2 separate regions of the Homo sapiens genome follow, and region 1 is linked to region 2. Evidence: promoter capture Hi-C in human tissues and cell types (Jung and others, 2019). All regions are on one chromosome and are shown on one strand. Each heading gives the region's core, a stretch centred on a gene start or on the middle of the fragment in contact. The rest is flanking DNA. Distances are from core to core; before and after follow the strand shown. Region 1 has its middle 12 kb from the start of RAP1GDS1. Region 2 holds the start of TSPAN5 (tetraspanin 5).

Evidence for each region. Contacts are between HindIII fragments. The study calls those that stand out against the background at their distance.
Region 1: a contact is called between a fragment that was not itself captured here and the fragment with the promoter of TSPAN5 in region 2, in 1 of the 25 tissues and cell types used here (spleen).

Annotation. Positions count from the first base shown.
Region 1 is chr4:98,247,873-98,250,678 of GRCh38, forward strand. No RefSeq gene overlaps it. Among named protein-coding and RNA genes, the nearest start is that of RAP1GDS1, 12 kb to the right of the region's middle. The HindIII fragment of the contact is 4,160 bases long and covers 1-2,806 here.
Region 2 is chr4:98,657,121-98,659,866 of GRCh38, forward strand. It overlaps TSPAN5 (tetraspanin 5), which reads right to left and starts at 1,491. Exons shown (of 8, transcript NM_005723.4): 1 at 1,026-1,491. The coding sequence starts at 1,106. It overlaps TSPAN5-DT (TSPAN5 divergent transcript), which reads left to right and starts at 1,782. Exons shown (of 3, transcript NR_148380.1): 1 at 1,782-1,902. LOC112267901 (a long non-coding RNA gene) reads left to right here and starts at 1,603. Exons shown (of 3, transcript XR_939016.3): 1 at 1,603-1,752. RefSeq lists silencers at 1,056-1,215, 1,469-1,648. The HindIII fragment of the contact is 6,297 bases long and covers 1-2,746 here.

The DNA of each region.
Region 1 (2,806 bases), core at 220-2,719, 410 kb before region 2:
GCTTGTTTCTTTGAGACAGAGTCTTGCTCTGTTGCCCAAGCTGTAGTGCAGTTGCACTATCACAGCTCACTGCAACCTCTGCCTCCTGGGTTCAAGTGATTCTCGTGCCTCAGCCTCCCGAGTGGCTGGGATTACAGGCATGCACCACCATGCCCCGGCTAACTTTTGTGTTTTTAATACAGGCGGGGTTTCACCACGTTGGCCAGGCTGGCCTTGAACTCCTGGCCTCAAGTGATCCACCCACCTTGGCCTCCCAAAGTGCTGAGATTACAGGCATGAGCCACCAAGCCTGGCCAAAATATTATTAAATATATATAATTAATAATTATGTAATTATAATATTTGAGGAGTGTTCACAAATTTTAGTAAGGGGTGCATGATCATAAAGAAATTTGGAAATCACTGCTTTAGTAGAACCACTCCCGTCATGCCTCAAATTTCTGTTTACTTCTGTTATGTTGGGAGGTGGAAGTCCCTCTGTCATCTACCACAATTTGCTCTTTCATTCCCATACTGCTTTGTAATCTTCTAAACTGAACCATCAGTTCTACCTCAGCCTTTCCAATCTACCCTCAAAAAATTCTGGATCTAGGATCAATAAACTTCCTGTTGTAGCTAATATCCACAGATGTTTCCCATTGGATCACATCTCCTGGTACTGATATCATTGTGAGTCCCTTCTCTTGAATCTGGATTGGCCTTGTGCTTCAATTTAATCAAAAGAAAAAGGCAGAAGTGCTACTGTGCCAATTCTGGGTCTAAGTCCCAAGGAGGCCTAGCAGCTTCTACCTTTGCACTTTTGCAAGCCCTGAGCTGCCATGTAAAAAGTCCAGCTATACTGCTGGAAGGTTCATGTGAAGAAAGAGAGACCTTGAGATGAGAGAGAGAGAGAGAGAGAACTAGCCATCCTACCTGAGCCCAGCTATCCCACCATCTCCACTAAAGCAGGTACCAGTTATGTGAATGAGCCATTTTGGCTGTTTCAGCCCTATCAAAGCCTCCAGTGATTTCAGCTCCATTTAACATCATGTGAATCAGAAGAATCACCCAGCTGGGCCCAGTCAACCTACAGTATCTTGAGGGATAATAAAATTGTTATTTTAAAACACTGAGTTTTCACATGGTCTATTGGGCAGCAATACATAACAAAACCCTATCTTACATACTCAATCCTCTGGGAATTTTCCCTTCAAATTTTTGACTTTAAGTAACTTCCCATTTGAGGACAAAATTTTACCCAGTAGTCCTCTCAAGTGACATCTGCTTTTTCCCTCACACCCCACCTACTACAGGCCCAATACATCACACCCATGTGATGACTCAGCTAGTAACCTTTCTCTCAGTTTCTAGACTTCTTAATTTTTTCCCTACTCCTCCTTAACCACCTGTTCCCATGGTCACACCCTAAAACTTACAAACTGAAACACCTCTGAAATATAAATTTTAAACATTTTATCCTTTCAGTTCACATGTGCTATTACTTGCACTGCAACCATTACTTGGCCACATCAGGACCTCAAATAAACAATGAAATATTGTTGAGGAAAATAACACGACCAGGCTGACATACTAAACTCTTCATCAATGATTCCAAACCTTAAATGGCCATTCAACACTGCCCAGCAAATACTACTTTATTTCTGCCTTAGGTTTGCAATCATAATTTTGGACACAACGACTTCATGCTCTCTTCTCTCCTCAAATCTTCTATCTCCCATGCCCCTTCTCTTACCTTCCATTAATGACCCCTTCTCTTGCTTCATAAATATAATCGAAGTTATTCAGTGGAGACTTTCCATCTTCTTGACATCAAATCTACCAACCCCCCTGTATATGCATGGTCTTCATTTCTGTTACAAAGGTTCACGTTGGGTGTCCTTCTCTCAGGATCCTCACCCACTCCTGCCTCTCCAAAAGTTTTGTACCTCTAGTTATTCTGTCTACCCTGTGTCACCAACAGATTATTTCCTTCAGTATAAAACAACAACAAAAAATATTTTAAGATCTCATATTTCCCCTACTATGCCATTTCTCTGCTCACCTCCACAGCATAACTTCTTTTAAAAAGTGTGTGTACACACACAATCATTTACTAGTTCTTCAAACCCTAAATCTAACTTCCCTTCCCAGTATTCACAGAAATTATTCTTGCTGACTCACCAACAATTTTCATGTTGGCAAATCCAGAGTATAATTCTGTTGCCATCTTATTTCTCTCCCAGTTTTCCTTATTTCAGTACATGACGTGGTCATTCATCCAATCACTTAAACCAGGACTTTAATATTTAACCTAAACTCCTCCTTTACATTCTCTTCTAAATCCAATTCATCAGCAAGCCCCAGATTTTCTACCTGTAGAAAAGCTTGTTTTTCTCCTTCTCCACCACAACTGCCCTGGTGCAGCCTCTGCATGTCTCACCCTGATCTCTGCAACAGCCTCCTGGAAGCTCACCTTATTTCCACTTATCTCCATAGCTGCCAGAGTGATCTTTCCAAACTGTCGGTCGGTCTATGTAGCTTTATGGGTAAAACGCTTTCAATGCTTTCTTTTAGTATTTAAAATGAAATTCTGATTCCAAATCATGGCCTAAAAGACCCATCTGATAGGAGTGTAAGGATAATATTTACCCCCACTCCACACATTTCATAGAGAGGAGAGAACTTTCTATCAACAGGAAGAAGACCATGGAAACATTCCTGGTCCCTCTCATTAACTGCCTCATCTACTCTCATCCCTTAGTACTCCTTTCTCTCCCTGAGGGGAAGAGAGAATCCTCTCATTGGTGAGAGGGGAAGAGAAATTGAG
Region 2 (2,746 bases), core at 241-2,740:
GGTCTTTGAACCAACGTTTTCCCCTTGTCCTGGAGAACTCTTTGTCTGGCTGCTGAACACGTTTGCCAGATCAAGGAAAAGAATCAAAACAAACAAACAAACAAAAAGAGTAGGCGTCCCAGCCTAATTACAATAGGTTCCCAACACATTGCAGTCCCAAGCAGAGCATCATTTGAATCTTGTGTTAAAGCATTTGCTCTCTCGGTTCCCCAATAAAACATGCCTCGCACACCTTCTCCTTTGCATTTCTACAAAGGTTCCCCCAAACGGCCCGCTCTGTGTCACTCCTTTAAAAATGAGGACGTGGGGCAGGAACACACTGAAATATATGTTGACGGTGACTTATTATCCTGACGATGATATATACATACAAATAAATCCCTCTACCCCGCACCCCCACTGACCAGTCCATTACGCACAGGGAGCGCTTTCCAGCTGAAGAGGAGAGCGTGCAGGAAACGTTATTTACGTGCAATTACAGGACCATATACCACGGCATCTGCATCCTACACAAAGCCCGAGATGGTGCAAGAAGATACACGCTGAGCATGGCACAGACCAGCCGCGGCAACACGGAGCCAAGCCCTCGTCCAATCAGATCGTTGTTAGAAGGTGGACCTCAGGGTCGGCCGTGCCCGATTAGCCTTCCCTATTATGACACCACGCTCTGCCCAACATCTATATCCCACCGAGAGCAAATCCAATTCGTGTGGTTGCTCATTTCTCAAACTGCCGAACCCTTTCTTTTATCTGCATCCCTGCTATTCGTTCCTCAAAAAGCCACCAGAAGGCCTCGGTGCCCCCTTTCCGCCTCGATTTCTCTTTTCACCTCTTCCCATTCCTCGAAAGGATTAAATGTTTATCTCTCCAACGCGCAAGCTGGAAAGGCGGAAGGCGAATGCCTCTATGCTGCTCCGGCAAGCGCCTGCGGGGCTGCGAAAAGTAAAGGCAACGAACAACGTGGGGGAAATCGTCGCGAATCGATCGGCCACAATAGTTGGAATCCCAGGAGCGCTCCAACTTACCCAAAATATGACATTGAAGCCAAATATGAAGTATTTGATGCAACAACTGACTTCAGGACCCTTGTAGTGCTTCCCGGACATCCTCTGGGTTCATGAAGACACTTGCCCCGGCAGCCCGAGTTTGGAGCTCCGAAGCACCGTTGCTCGGAGCAGCCCGGCGGGGAGCAGGAGCTCAGGGACACCGCACGGGGCCGCGGCGCTGGCGGCCTGGGCTCAGCCGCGCGGGGACCGACCGGCGGAGAGCGGCTCCCGCACCTCCAGCCCCTCGCGCGCCGAGGCCGCCGGAGCCGGGGTGGCCGCGAGAAAGCAGGGAAGCCGCGCGCTGCAAGCTCAAGCCTCGCCGACGCTAGCCCCGAACACAAAGCGAGCGCCCGCGTCCGTGCGCCAGGCGGTCGGTCCGTCGGTTCGTCCCCGGGCTTCGGGCAAAGGCGGCCGCGGCAGATGCTGGTGGAGACGCCGCTCGCTTGCTCGCCCGCCCGTTCGCGCGCGCCCTCCCACCCCTCGCTCCGCCCGCCTCTCGCTCCGCCCGCCCGGCCGGCTGCTCCTCCGCCCGCGCCGCCCGCAGCTCCGCCCGCCGCCCAAGCCTTGGCTAGGCGCGCGCGCGCACGGGGTCGGGCGCTCCCGGGCGGCGGTGGCACCACGTAGCCGCCTCCTTCCACCGCTCGCTTTATCCCCGCCCCTTCTCGGGCCAACCCCAAGCGCCGCTGACCCCGAACGTCGCTGCGGGGTAGGTAGGGGGTGGGAGGGTGGAGGACCGCAGGCGAGAGGGAGAAGGAAGGGCGCCCGGGGAGCAGGCTGGCAGAGTGACCGGGATTGATGAGCGGCGCAGCTCTGGAGGGACGCGGGCGAGAGGGTCGCTCCTCGGGGAGAGGGCTGGGTGAGTGAGGACCTGCGAGCCACCCCCGACACCCCTTCCAGGGTAGCCACACTGGCGCCCCCTCCTCCACAACAGGCTTATGTGGCTAGAGAAGATGCGATGCCACTGGACAGGGAAGGAAAGTCGTCGTGGACTTCGCTGAATGGAAAAGGGGGTAGTTGGGGAAGGTGGAGAAAAGAGCCACGGGAAGTGGGAGGAAAGGATGAAGGGATGGGACGTTGAAAAGGAAAGCTTCCTGAATCCCTGTGTGACTCTAACCCAACCTCCCCACCTACCGGAGAAATGGGTTTTATCCTAGAAATGGGGACGAGGAAAAAGAGATGGCTCAAGGGAGTCCTGGCCCGGGATGCGATCCTCGCCCTAGGGTCTATTGCAACCACACAAACCCGGACAGCGCACGCTCCCCCCTACCCCGACAGAATAGTGCCTAAGAAACCTGCTTGCCTCCTAACTCTAGGAAGGAATCCACAACGGATTCCAGGGAGGTCTTCTGGGGAATCTGAATTGGGTTTTTGGATCACGAACCATTAAGCTTTTGAACTCTGGGGAAGAATAGAACAGGTGGCTGGAAATTGTTTTAGAACCCTACCTGAGCAGGTGTGCTCATTAGTTGCTTATCCGCCCTCCTCCTGGAGCACTTTCATAGGTGTTGGCAAAGCAGGTACCAGTATTTCACGGAAGGAGAAGGAAGAACCGCCCAGGACTGTGTATAAATGTCTATGGGAATATTTTTAAGGATTCAAAAGGCTAGAAGGAGGTGAGATCAAAAAATTTTTCCAGCACCACCCAGTGCAACCCGATCCTGGACACAGAAATCTAAAAGATGATACTTAAATACTTGAGT